2 separate regions of the Homo sapiens genome follow, and region 2 is linked to region 1. The links are contacts of gene promoters, found by promoter capture Hi-C in blood cells and fetal thymus (Javierre and others, 2016). All regions are on one chromosome and are shown on one strand. The core of a region is centred on a gene start or on the middle of the fragment in contact, and the rest is flanking DNA. Distances in the headings are between cores, read along the strand shown.

Region 1 (7,303 bases), core at 4,319-6,818:
ACTCCTGAGCTCAGGTGATCCACCCGCCTTGGCCTCCCAAAGTGCTGGGATTATAGGCATGAGCCACCACGCCCAGTCAGGATTTTCTATATATAAGGTGATGTCAATTACATATATAAATTTTCTTTTTTTTCTAATCTGGATGCCTTTTATTTCTTTTTCTTGTTTAGTTACCCTGGATAACACTTCCAGTACAGTGCTGAATGGATGTGGTGAAAGTAGACAACTTTATCTGCGTCTGTCCTTTCATAATTAAGACAACTATTTATTAAATTGTGAAAAGAAAGCAGGGCTCAAATCACGTTGCTCTAATTGAAATGGAAAGTGAATACACCTTGTTTCAATCCTTCCACTTTAAAATGGCATAAAATATGTATTAACTTTCTATTTTGGTATTGAGAGAATAAATTAGAATTTGATGATGCCCTTCAAAATTAAATATGTGAATTCATAGGACAAAGTTATGGGGCATGATTAGGAAAATTCGTAAGTGAGGGATGAAACCTGGGGTCATTTTTCCTTCCTAGAGATCAGAATTATTAATAAATCATGACCTTTATTCTGAAAGAAGGAAGGCTGGGGTGCCAGTGACTTTCCTGAAAGACACACGAAAACGTATGCCTGCCCTGGGGACAATGAATAACTTCTACACATATATTGGTTTGAGCCCCCTTTGTTTAGGAATCCTGCTTGCTTGCTCTTTTTATATGATGTTTTCATAAATAAATTATGATCCCAGTTAATGTAAAAGTAGGTTGTAAAAGGATTTCCCTCTTGGGCCAATAATGTGTCCCCTCCGAAGAATAAGAAAAAAAGTATCAGAGTGCTTCCTTCCCCCTTTTTCTGTTGCTGGAAATGTTTTCGATATGGCTGCACAAATAAATGCAGTAAGGTTGTGGGCACCTCCACTCTGCAAGCCTCCATCACTTACGTAGCAAAGTTGTTTCTGGGGCATAAGATCCCTTTGATGAAGGCAGCGTCTACCTTGCAGTTACACTCACAGACAGTACTTGAACATGGTTTGACATTGCATTCGATTCCTGGAAAGGGAGGTACCTCCAAGTTTGACAGGTGTTAAAACAGAGCTATTATTTGTAGTAACTACTTATTATGGGAGGTCTTGGAACAAATCCTTTCTCTAAATCATCTTCTTTGGCCCCCAGGCAGTCCTATTAGTAGGTATTATTATTAATCTTAATTTTTACTTGTGGAAGCTGAGGCTTAGTGAGTATAGAGATATCATTTTTTTTCTTCCCTCTGTGCAAGATTCTTTTCCCTCATTTTCTGTGAATAACATACCTTTTTAAGTGGAAGTCTTCTGCCCCACTTTCTGTAACTCTAATTTTAATAATTATAATATCCTGCCCTGCTGTTCAGAGAGTGTGAACAAATAACCTAGGATCAGGTAATCTCCTACTGGTAATCCTGATTAGGGTTCTTATCATAGATTTTATATCTGGATGCTCAGAGAGAAGCTTTCTTTTTCTTCTGGAGTCATTATATGGGAAGATGGAAGTCTGGACCACAATCTTCTCCTCCTCTACATTTTGAGGAAATTCTGCCTGTAATAGAAGAGAAACATACAACACACTGAGAAAATCAAAGCCGAGAGATGAATAAAAAACACTGGTATTCTTTTGAGTCTCTGAGGCTAGATCCACTTCTAGAGTGAGATATTAGATAACCCATTTTTGCTTACTTGCCTGACTTACAGCTTTGTTATTTGCAATCGAGAAAGTTAATCAGCTTGCCCACAGTTGTGTGATTAGGGAAGCCAAAACACTGCTTTTAAATCCATGTCTGTCTACCTCCAAAGCTTGTGCTCTATACAATATTTTAGCTTATACTGATATGAACCAGATTTCATCAAATATTAACAGAAAGAAAGGGTATAAAATGCACATGATCACAACTGACAGACCCACCATGTATAACCCCAAATATGAAAACTCATGTCCAAAGTGTGAGGAAGAGCAAAAATGTATGTCTTTTCCAAGAGGAAAAAAAGCATTTCATTTCCCCCTAGAATCAATTCCTACAGATAGTAATATGAGTTCTTAGGAGAGTAACTATTTCCTGTGACTTTGGGTATAAATATCTCATCTAATCTGAGTGATCTGATTCAGCACACTGAGGCAATGACTGCCAGTGATTTTACAGGTATGACCAAGAGGTTGAAGATGAATCAGATTCAAGTGGAAATAGCAGAATCAGTAGATAATTAGATAGTAGAATTTGACCTCCGCCTTTGGGTTCATGTGTCCTTAATGTCCTGTGGCTTGTGATCATAGCAAATCTCAACATATAATAGCTCTACCCATGACCCCTTCCCAATCCATGTATATATCACCAGTTGAGTGACCATCATTTATCATCGTGTAAAATTCAACATAAGTTTTTATACATAGCATTTAAATAAATACAACAAAAACCACTGTAAATACAAGAAGAAAATTATGTAGTTTTCTATACATCCACGCAGACATCTATTGCCCATTTTTTTCAAGTTCACCTAAAATCTTTGACTTTAACATTCAAATTACAAAAGGCCCTGACCTTTTGTAATTGTTGCTGACTCTGATATAATAAAAGTCGAAATTAATAACTAAAGTGTATGTAAGAAAGACTTGGTGATTAAAGACCATCTTCCTACATGGATCTTGGGTGAAACAGAAAGTATCAAAACAGCAGTTTCAGATTGGCTGAGAACAAAACCTTACAAATTGAAACTCATGATACATGATTAAAACTTTTTTTACATGCAAATTCATGGACTTAAAATTCTCTATAACTAATAAAGAAAGAATGTAAACAAGACCTTTAGCTTAAGAAGTTAAAAAAAGAACAGCAAAACACACTTAAAGAAGGATGTAGCCCAGGTGCGGTGGCTCACGCCTGTAATTCCAGCATTTTGGGAGGCCGAGGCAGGAGGATCATTTGAGGTCAGGAGTTCGAGACCAACCTGGTCATTGTGGCGAAAACCCATCTCTACTAAACATACAAAAATTAGCTGGGCATAGTGGCTCATGCTTATGATCCCAGCTATGTGGGAGGTGGAGGCAGGAAAATCACTTGAACCCAGGAGGCAGAGGTTGCAGTGAGCGGAGATCACACCACTGCACTCCAGCCTGGGCGACAGAGTGAAGTAACTGGTAAAAAATAATACAGTCAATACACTAGAATATATATGTGTGTTTTTAAATAGTAGAATTAATAAATCAAAGGTTGATTTTTTTTTAGGAAAAATTGCTGAATCAATAGTCTAATAGGAGAATGATAGATTATTTGCTTTGAATGTAATGAATGGGATTTAATTATTTTTGTCTAATTACAGGAGCAATATATGCTCAACAATGAAAATAAAATAAAATGTTTATGTTGACCTTGGGTGCAACATAAGTAAAACCCTTTCATAGTTTGACCCCCATTTTACTTGTAACATGCTTGTTTTAAGTCAATGGATTTTTTATATTTCTTCTACAGTATTATCGCCCCTTACCCCACTGCATCTACAGTCTCTCATCACCTAAGATTGTTCATCTCAGAAACATCATTGACAAGTTATTTCTATTATTTTTCTGTATTGTCATGTGTTTTTTGACCTTGACACTTCAAATCCGTAATTAACACCTTCCTTCCTGGATAACTACAGACACTTCTGAGTTGGTGTAACTGGTTCTGCAGTGCCCACTGTGGTATGCTATCCATCAGGACATGTGGTCTTTGGGTCAAGGAATTCAGCCACTGTTACAATCTTGGCCAGGCAGGCTTAGGCATGGGCTAGTGGAATCTTGGTTTAATATCCGTATCTCTTTCCTCCTACTTTCCAATTTCCTGCTGATGCCTCCTATCGGCGGCAACCAACTGGAAGCCAGAGGGCCAGGCAGCCTGGATAGTGCAGTCTTTTTGCCTGTTCAGGTCAGTTGATGCAGAGCTGGAAGAGCTGGGAGGAACCACTAGAAGGTGGAATGGAGAATATCCAGCATGCTAGCAGCAATCTTGCCCTTCCTCTCTTCTTCCCAGAGATAATATGGCCACCTTGAATTTTGTTCTTTTCCCGAATTTGACACACTCCGTCTGGATTCTTGCCTTTGCAAATACAGGTTTCTCCTGCAGGAATTTCCTTACCCAACTTCTTTGTGTGGCAAACTCCTACTTACTCTTTAAGATCCAACTCAAATATCATCACTCTCCTATTGACACACATGAGGAGGCAGCAAGGCACTCTAAATAGAACAAAGAAACATCAGGTCAGCTCCTCAATCTGTCACTTACTAGTTAATGTGACTTTGTGTGGGGGTACTTTTGTGATTCTAAGTTTCCTCTTTGGCAAAATAGGAATGGGAATACAGTAGGCCTTTGCTGTCCACTGGTTGCACACAGAGAATTCAACACACGGGATGGAAAATATTCGGGAAAAAACCCCACAGTTGAAAATAACAATACAACAATTAAAAAATAATATGAATAAAAGTACAGTGTAACAACTATTTACATAGCATTTACAGTGTATTAGGTATTGTAAGCAATCTAGAGATGATTTAAAGCATATAGGAGGATGTGTGTAGGTTATATGCAAATACTACACCATTTTATAAAAGAGACTTAAGCATGGGTGGATTTGGGTATCTGCGGGGGTCCTGGAACCAATTACCTAGGGATACCGAGGGCCCACTTTACCTGCCTTGACATCCCTTTCCCAGGGAACGTGAAATGATCAGACCGAGAAAATGCAAATCATTTTCCAAATGTAATTTTGTTGTTGTTCTTACCGCTGCTTATAATTAAAAAAAAAATAATTTGCTCAGCTCGATCACTGTGCACGGTGCAAAAAATCAACTTTGGTACCATTCAGCAAATCATACCCCCACGTCCCGCCTTTATTTTCCTTTTTTGCAGCCCGGTTTCTCTCTTCTGCTCACTCATACCCGCCCACCCCGCTTTTGTAGCTTGCTTGTTCATATCTGAACTTGGGTATCCAAAGACACTGCTTGACTTTGCAGGTACATTTCACAGTTAAAGAGGGTTCGTCATTTAGTAGTCGGGGATGGGGAGAACTGTCACAAAGCAAAAGTCTACATTCTAAATCGTGAAGTTCTGGGAGCTGAGAATCAGATTGGCAGGGCCAAGAACGAATCCGTCGACGAGCCGGGAGGCGGGGCTCCTGCTGGGGCCTCTGCAGCCCGCGCTGGGTTCCCGAATTCCCGCGCTGTAAGCCGGAACCCCAGGCCAGCGGGCGCCGCGGCGGGCCCGGAGATCGGTGCAGGACGCACGGCCTAGCCAGAACTACAACTCCCGACGTGCGCGGCGGCCAACGCTGGTTCTATCCCTGCTTGTTGCTTTTTTTTTTCCCTCCGCTTCTTGCGACGGAGACTGCTGTCCAGGAAGTGCGCAGTAGTGATTCTAGAGAGGCTGGAAGCTCTCCTGGCGACGCTGGGGCCGCGAAGGGCTCACGTAATGACTCCTACTCCTGGTGAGCGCAGGCGTTGCGGAACTCACCGTCCCACAGGACGTGTTTCCGGGGGTACATTAATTGTGGCTGGACGCAGTGGCGCGGCAGTTTAATTCTCCGGCGGCTGCAGATTGACGGGACGAGATGGTCCTGGCAGGGCTCATCAGGAAACTCGGTAACTGTCAGCTTGCCCCTCGCCCAAGGCACCCCCCGCGCTCTGGCCACTTGCTGAGAATGGTCGTGTCACGTTTCCGCGGCCGGCCGCTCCGCGACCGCTCCCTCTTTCACCCCCGCTTTGTCAGGATAGCCCCCGGGGACCCATCTCGGACTTTGTGTAAACTTCGCGGTTCGCGTCCCGAAGGCACCAGTGGCCTGCTTCTGAAAAAAACTGGTTTATTCCGTCTTCACGCCGCTCCTGCCCACAGCATAAATAACGTAGTCTCTTTGCAGTCGGGAAATAAAATAGTTTTGTGCCGTTCGTTGACAGGTCATCAGCTGGCCGAGATCAGGGAGCGCGCTCTCAAGAGTATTCTCTGCAAGATTGAGCACAACTTAATCTGCTACGCTGATCTCATTCAGGAGAGGCAACTTTTTCTTCATTTGCTGGAATGGTTCAATTTCCCGTCCGTTCCGATGAAGGAAGAGGTTCTGAACCTGTTAAGCAGATTGGTTAAGGTAGGGTCATTTTGAAATAAAGAAAATAATCAGACGAGTGACTTGTTTCTTAGTCATTTAATTGTAGCGTTTATTGAAAGTTAAATAATTGGGGTTAAAAGTTTTTTTAATCAACCAGAGATGTTTAATTTTAATTAATCTGGGTATATGGTTCATCTTTTATTTGTGATACTGAATCCCACATGGTCTCTGCTGTGCTCAGAAGTAACACAGAACTTCTTTTGAGTTTTGGTATGTTCTGTGTTTTTGAGTTATCTTTGGAGGTTAATATTTGTATTCTGTTTTTGTTTTCTGACATTTACATCTTAAAAACTAGATATGTCAGTATGAAAGGGAGCACTTTAAAAATAATGTTACATAACCGTGATTCATAAATACCAATGTTAAGTTGCTTGCCCATATGCTTTTAGATTGGTATTCTTATGCCTACCTCAAGAGTAGTTAGTTATCGGGGTCAGATATCAAAGTGTAAGTTTAACCTTTCAAAACTAAATCACTGTACAATGGTAGAGGAATCTTAAACTACTTTGACATCCTGTTGACCGGTTGGGGCTGGGACCATAAGGTGAGTGTCAGTGGAAAAAAGTAACCCATTAAAAAAATAAGAGTAGGGATTGATAATGTGCATTTCTAGCGTTCAGTGTGTTGGCTCATCTTTCATAAATGTTATCAAGTGTTGGATGTATGTCTCTATAGGTGTATGTGCTCCTCATGGAAGTGCCTTACTTCGGGGCAGAGCCATGAAGGATTTGTTTTTCAGAAAAGGAACATCTGATATACCAAAAATAATTTTATGTTTTGATTGCTGTAAGTTATAGAGATTTTGATACAGTTATTCTCAAGATCATCCTCTTCTTATTTTAGTATCCCCCAGCAGTCCAACATTTGGTTGACGTTGGTGCAGTAGAGTTCTTATCTAAGCTTCGGTCTAATGTGGAGCCAAATCTGCAGGCTGAAATTGATGGCATTCTGGATGGACTTTTTCTTCTTCCTTCGGAAGTTCCTGCACTATCTTCTGCCTCATACCAAACCAATCAAACTGGTAACTCTTTGGAATCTGTTAAATACAAATATATTAATTCTAATGGTAAATTTTAAGGAAAGGGAGATTAGATTTTTTTAAAAAGGATTTCTCCCACCTCCCCCAAACTTATTTTTCTTGTGTTAACTTACATG
Region 2 (6,860 bases), core at 2,227-4,726, 290 kb before region 1:
CTTGGTTTTTCTGTATTTTATCTATTTTTGTCTCAATGAATAAAGTTTACTTGATTATACGTGATGCTGAGGTGTTTAATTATCAGCAAACATAATCACTCACATATTTCTCTAGCTTTAAAAAGCCTTATATTTTGGTTGAAATGAGACCTGAATATATTAAGAATAGAAGAATTGCATCTGAAATTGAAGTACAAAATTAAGGTAACTGGAGCACAAATATGCGAATTGAAAAAAAAAACTGCTCGTAAATTGCAAGAATAAACATTAACCTAATGGCTTATTTACCTTTTAATTCAAAAGGTAGCTCGTCTTCCCTGGAAGCACAGAACAATGAGAGTCACAGCTTGCATGTGACCGTTCCTATCCACAGTCCCAGAAAAATCTCAGACATCAATGACTGCCAGGATGTCCGGCAAAACAGCCTCTTTTGTGGACAGGTTGATGAAAAACATCTATTTTAAAGCATCTCAGTCTCTTTGCTTGGAATCCATGCCTATTCACAAACCTTATGATTAAATTTTTGTTTCCACCGTTAGTCAATTAACATTATGATTTTACAAAAATTGGGTTTATTCACCCAGTTCAAGAGCTTGACAAGTGGGAGGGACACCTTTATTCGCAGGAATAAGGTGATTCAAGAACTCCTGTCCTCAGACAAGAGCAGCTCCGGCCGGGTTTATTTCACAGGATCCGGAGTCCAGGCCGCCAGGCACTCTCTTTGTTTTTGTGACCGTTTTTTTGAAGCTCAACTTCCTCACATCACATGGAAGGAAAAATATGTATTTTATGTCCCATTTTATCAGATTAACTGTTAGAGTTTTAGGGAACTTAGATTTTCCAAAAGAAGAGTCCACGGAGGCATAGAAATAATCAGTGACTGCCTCAAATCACCGTCGCACTCCAGCCTGGTCCATTCTGGGTCCAGGCACGCAGGGAACCGGCACGCACGGCGCCCACGGCTGCTCCGCGTCAGGTAATGGGCCCCACGGCGGCCAGGGACGCACCCTAGCACCTGAGGTCAGCCTAGGGCCTCGACTCCCGGAAGTGAGAAGGCTGTGGCTTCGGGGACAGCCGGCTAGGCAAAGTGCCCGGGGCGGAAATGCCTTCCATGGTGCCCCCAGCTGGGGCCCAGCGGCAGCTCCCCGGAGACCAGGGGTTCCGCCCTCAGAGACTCAGAATACCCCTGCCTGCGGCGACCTTGAGCCTCCTGACTTACTGAGCCTGATGAGGCCTGCCCACGGGGGCGTTCACAGCTCCCTAGGGGCCTCCACTGAGCAGCCAGCTTTGACGCCACCGCTTTGGAGCCTCGCCTCAAGAACTGGCTGAGCGACAGCGATCTTGGCAGGGAAGCGGAAGTGGTCATGCCGAACCCAGCCTGTGCAACACCCGGCACTGCCATCGCCCTGACACAGGAGGGGCTGCTTTTCCTTCTGACCTCAAACAGCTCCACGGAGAAGGGCTCATGCCTTCCAGACCGTGGGCCTCAATCCTGAAGGCTTCAGCCCACCTTGAGGAATCTTTGGTATCATCGGAACCCAGCAGCTCAGGGGAACAAAGTCAGCAGCAGCAGGAACAACGCCTGGGCACCAGAAAGCAGCATGGTACAGAAGGAGAATGAGAGAAAAGGCAAGAAGCCCAGAGGCAGTTCTGGAACTTAGGGCACCTCTAAGCCCACAGCACCAAGTCCAGTAGGGATTTTAAGGGTGGCTGGCACAACCAGGATCAAGAATGTGTCTTGGCCCAGCCATCCTCGATTGGGGTCTCTGGCTCCTTCTAGCCCCATTGGCTGCCAAGGTATCCAGCCAGTGGGTAGGGGTGAGTTACCCCAACTGGAGGGGCAGATAGAAATGTAAAAGTTTACCCTATTGGTCACAACCATGACTAGAAATGTTGTGACTTCTGCACGCACTGCACTGCAGGAAGCCACTCCATCTTTGGCAGGGAGGGATGTCATGCAACACTACGGACATACTTAAACTGAAAAAAAATATTCCTACAAAGGGAAACACACTCTTACCATATAATCCAGCATTCAAACGCCTAGGCATTTGCCCAAATGAATTTAAAGCTTACGTCCACACCAAAATCTGCACACAGATGTTTATAGCAGCTCTATTCTTAATTCCAAAACTTGGAAGCAAGCAAGATGTCCTTCACCAGGTGAATGAGTAAGTCAACTGTGGTACATCTAGACAATGGAATATTAATAGGATTCAGGGCTAAAAAGAAATGGGCTATGAAGACATGGAAAGATATGAAAGAAACTTAAAGGCACATTACTAAGTGAAAGTAACCAATCTGAAAAGACTGCATACTGTACAATTCCAACTTTACAACATTCTGGGAAAGGAAAAACTATGGAGGCAGTAAGAAGATCAGTGGTTGCCAGGAGTTTAAGGGAGAGGGGGATGAATAAGCAGAGATTCACAGATCATTATGACTGTGAAAATACTCTGTATGATACTATAATGGTGGACACATATCATTATACATTTCTCAAAACCCATACAACACCAAAAGTACAACACCAAGAGTGAATTGTAATGTAACCTGTGGACTTTGGGTGATAATGATGTGTCAATATAGTTTCATGAATTATAACACATGTACCACTCTGCTGGTGGGGGATGCAGATATGAGGGAGGAGGGTGGTCAGGAGTTATATAGGAACTCTTCTGTATTTTCTGCTCAGTTTTACAGGGAACCCAAAACTGCTCTAAAAAATAAACTTTATTAAAAGTGAAAAGAAATATTCTTTGTTGATTTGAAATTCAATTTTAATGGGCATCCTGTAATTTTACTTGCTAAATCTAGCAACTCTGTTGGAAGAGCACTAAATTTCAAGTTATATAAATTATAATGAATATTTTATTTAATATATTGGATATATTTTGAGTCCCTACTCCCCCTCCTTAGCAGGCGGAAGCCCCAATTGAGTAGAGGGAGAGATTTAGATGGCCTGGATACCCCAAATACCGGATTCAGTTAATCTGGCACAATTTAGCTCCCTTTAATGAGCCCAAGGATTAAAAAGAATATTTTTACATGAATTTCTAGTCTCCTAAACTAACATTCTTTGTTTACATAGGGCTTATATTCAATCAGAGGCTTTTTTTTGTCTACATGTGTGTTGTTTAAGTAATTTCATTCAATCTGTGAAGTCAGAAATGGATTTCAATTATTTCAGTGCTCACCAGTAACCTAAAGTGACATCCAAAAAATGCTCTCCATGAATGCTTGCAAAATTCTTCTTCTTCTGTCTCAGATATTTTAAAAGTAGTACATCTGACCTCTAATGCAATGTGCTTTCTTCTCATTAATAGGGCTCTTTCTTAGAAGCTCATTTACACGATATCAGTATAAATTTTATATTTTATTTATTCAAGGAGCAATCTCCACCAAACTTTGCAGAGCCATGATTAGAATCTCTATATTTCTGAAGTCACCTGTCAACACAACTGTGCTTGAATAATTACATTTAGCAATCTATAACCCCAGGCAGTTCCAGTTGCTGCAGCTATGCCTATGCTGAGATTTTAGGTATCAGCACATCACCAAGATAACAATAAAGCTCATAAAACTGAACCTATTATCTGCCAAACGTATCTCTGGATACTTGCATCTTAGAGAGAAGTCTATTATAGAGATACTGACACACATCACAGCCCCCACCATCCCCACTACATACTTACAATATTATTATTGACAGTAAACGATGACTAAGGCTTGTCATCTACCATAAATGGCTGATCTGTCTGCAACAGATTTAATTTACTGACATAAAACATTCTCATTTTCTGCCTACCCAGGTTAAGCAGATGCCTGAGAAGTCACAGAGAGTAATAATTCCCACCCTGGTGGCTGACTATTGGTCACTGATTATAACTGGACATTGGAAATTCTTTGCTGCAAAATATCTATTATGAATATGAAGGGACTTTCAAGTTATTCATAGTCTTTCTTAGAGGCTTTTATTAGAGGCTTTTCCAAATCCAAAAGCCAAGATAAAATAGCTCAGCATAGCATTCATTTTTAATGACTCTCAAGCTAGAATGTAAATCCCTGTTCGGCATGCATTAACTCTCATCAGGATTTTAACAACTGGCCTAAATCTTGCCTTCCCCACACTGGATGGGAACGCTCGGCAGAGTCACGATGGTGCCACACAGGCAGGGGCTGAGAGCTGCAGATCTCATAGCCACTGAGTGGAAATAGGAAAAAGCACTTGCAATTTTAAGAGTGAGGCCAGCTCCTTCACTCCTAGAGTCGTGTACTGGACCACCCCACTCTAACCCACCTTTGCAAGAAAGAGACAAATCAGGGGTTTGGCTATTTATTCTCAGTGAAGAGGGAAACCCTTATGGGAGTAAATGAGTGGCCAAACATTAAGAACAAGTGGTGCAATTAGAAACCACAGTTTTGGTCTTAAGGGTCTCTGGAAAGAAAATCTAGAAAATACATAATTTTCTGTAGCAAAATCTGAGAATACAGACCTAGACATTTACCTCTATCTCATTTGGTGGGCCCTTGGAAGAAAATAGAGCAATGCCCAGGAATAAAAATAAAAATCAGATAACCCAGCATAGTATAAAACACACTCAAAGACAATAAATAGAACTTCGTATCAACAGTGATCTTTGACATGATGGAATAAATTAGTCACACCATATTCAATGAGTACAAGCATCACACCTGTCTACCTGAGCAATTATCATGTAAATATGTCCTCTGTGTGTATGTGCCTTTGGAGAATATCCACTAGTATATACAAAATCCCACCAGAGGATAAAATAAATTATTAAAAATAAATAAAAACTCCATATCTAGTCTGCAGAAAGAAATCATTCTGTGCTTTGTGGCCCACATGCACAAGCTTGCTAAAAAATATGTGGGTGTATGAAGGTACCTGGGACCCTTGTATAAAACCAAATTTAAAATTTCATGTCTGGGACGCTAAACATTCACTGCTCAGAAATTACCTGCTATGGGGCATGAAGCACCTCTTTGGAACTTTTCCCTTCATTTGCCCTGGTGGGTGAGCTGTGTGCCTCTTATGAATACTCCATGATGAAGTTCAAAGAAAGTGACTCAGAGAGCACAGTGGAACTGTTCCTTAAATGTAGGCTGCCTCTTATAAGGAGGAAAAAAAGGAATCTGGTTACTTTGGCTAGCCATTTATTTATTTATTTATTTTTTAGAGTCTCGCTCTGTTGCCCAGGCTGGAGTGCAGTGGTGTGATATCAGCTCACTGCAAGCTCCGCCTCCCAGGTTCATGCCATTGTCCTGCCTCAGCCTCCCAAGTGGCTGGGACTACAGGCGCCTGCCACCATGCCCGGCTAATTTTTTGTATTTTTAGTAGAAACAGGGTTTCACTGTGTTAGCCAGGATGGTCTCGATCTCCTGACCTCGTGATCCGCCTGCCTCGGCCTCCCAAAGTGCTGGGATAACAGGTGTGAGCCACCACGTCTGGCTCATTTAATTATTTTTAATTTATTAGCCTCCACATGCTACTCTCCCTTTGACATCCCTAACCCACACATGGGTGTAAGGCCTAAAATTAAGATGCAGTTTTGTATGCTGTCTTGACATCTGGGAAACCAGGAGGGCCTTCAATGGCCTTACCTCAAGTTCCCTCCCTCCTGTGGGAAAAATACCCTAGCTAAAGGACACTCCTTATCATGGGACCACATATATCCCTGAGTAGCGGGCTTCAGTTTCCTGCCAACCCATGGAGTTATCCAAACAAGCCAATCACATCCTCCTCCTCTTGTTACTACAAAGCCTACCTCCCCCATCCAATCACATCCTCCTCCTCTTGTTACTACAAAGCCTACCTCCCCCATCCCCTGCTGGACACCTGTCCGGTGTCAGGTGCCGTGGGTTTGGCCATCTCTACAACCCTAGGGTGGGAAACCCTCTATCACCACCAGGGTGAATAGGAGGAGGTGCCTAAAACAACCCAGTTCATAACTGATTGATTGAAAATTGCCTTGAGCCCTCCCCACATGAACTCTGAGCTGCTGGGACAGGTCTTTCAAGGGCAGGCCTCTCCTTATGATGCCCTGCCACAGAATGGATCTCTGATCCTCTGTTTTTCAATTTACAACAAATTGGCCTGGTGAGGTGGCTCACGCCTGTAATTCCAGCACTTTGGGAGGCCAAAGTGGGAGGATCTCTTGAGCCCAGGAATTCAAGAGCAGCTTGGGCAACAAAGCAAAACCCCATCTCTAAAAACAAAAAAATTAAAAGAAAAAAATTAGCCATGCATGGTAGCACATGCCTTGGTCCCAGCTACTCAGGAGGCTGAGGGAGGAGGATCAGTTGAGCCCAAGAGTTCAAGGCCACAGTGAGCTATGATCATGACACCGCACTCCAGCCTGGGCAACAAAGTGAGACCATGTCTCTTAAAAAAAAAAAAAACAATTGAGTAAGAATAATTGTATATTGAATCTTTTTCTCTCCTTGAATTGAACAATTTCTCTGAACACATGAGTCCATGGAAGAAACATTTTTCCTCTGTTAACAAAAACCTTTCAGACAGTTTTCTTTCAGGTCACTTTTATACCAAACACTATTCTTCCTTTCTCTTTTTTTTTAAGCTTATAATGTTGATTTTAGGAGTAACCTTCACCACCACCTACAACACAAATTATACTCCCTTACCTTGCCAGTGAAAATTCTAAAACTTCCCCTGCAGCAGTCATTAAATAATAAATACTTTACTGCCATGATTTTATCCATAAACACTCGATGGTTTACAGATGGATTTATAAGGATCCCCAGGGAACTATGACTGATCACATCCTATGCCAGTTCTTCTCCACATCCCCCGACCACACTAACTCTTCTCTAGGCAG

What was found. The method cuts DNA at HindIII sites, captures the fragments that hold promoters and counts their contacts. A CHiCAGO score of 5 or more calls a contact.
Region 2: a fragment that was not itself captured here is called in contact with the fragment with the promoter of RTTN in region 1 in 4 of 17 cell types (monocytes, M2 macrophages, M1 macrophages and 1 more); the score reaches 15.9 in monocytes.

What each region holds. Positions count from the first base shown.
Region 1 is chr18:70,203,952-70,211,254 of GRCh38, reverse strand. RTTN (rotatin) reads left to right here and starts at 5,568. Exons shown (of 49, transcript NM_173630.4): 1 at 5,568-5,627; 2 at 5,940-6,127; 3 at 6,992-7,169. The coding sequence starts at 5,597. LOC105372180 (a long non-coding RNA gene) reads right to left here and starts at 5,466. Exons shown (of 3, transcript XR_935599.3): 1 at 4,681-5,466; 2 at 4,161-4,226; 3 at 271-1,562. It overlaps LOC124904321 (a long non-coding RNA gene), which reads left to right. Exons shown (of 2, transcript XR_007066411.1): 2 at 171-902. RefSeq lists enhancers at 5,169-5,408, 4,871-5,500, 5,419-5,528, 5,739-5,868. The HindIII fragment of the contact is 5,232 bases long and covers 1,819-7,050 here.
Region 2 is chr18:70,493,778-70,500,637 of GRCh38, reverse strand. No RefSeq gene overlaps it. Among named protein-coding and RNA genes, the nearest start is that of LINC01910, 110 kb to the right of the region's middle. The HindIII fragment of the contact is 2,805 bases long and covers 2,074-4,878 here.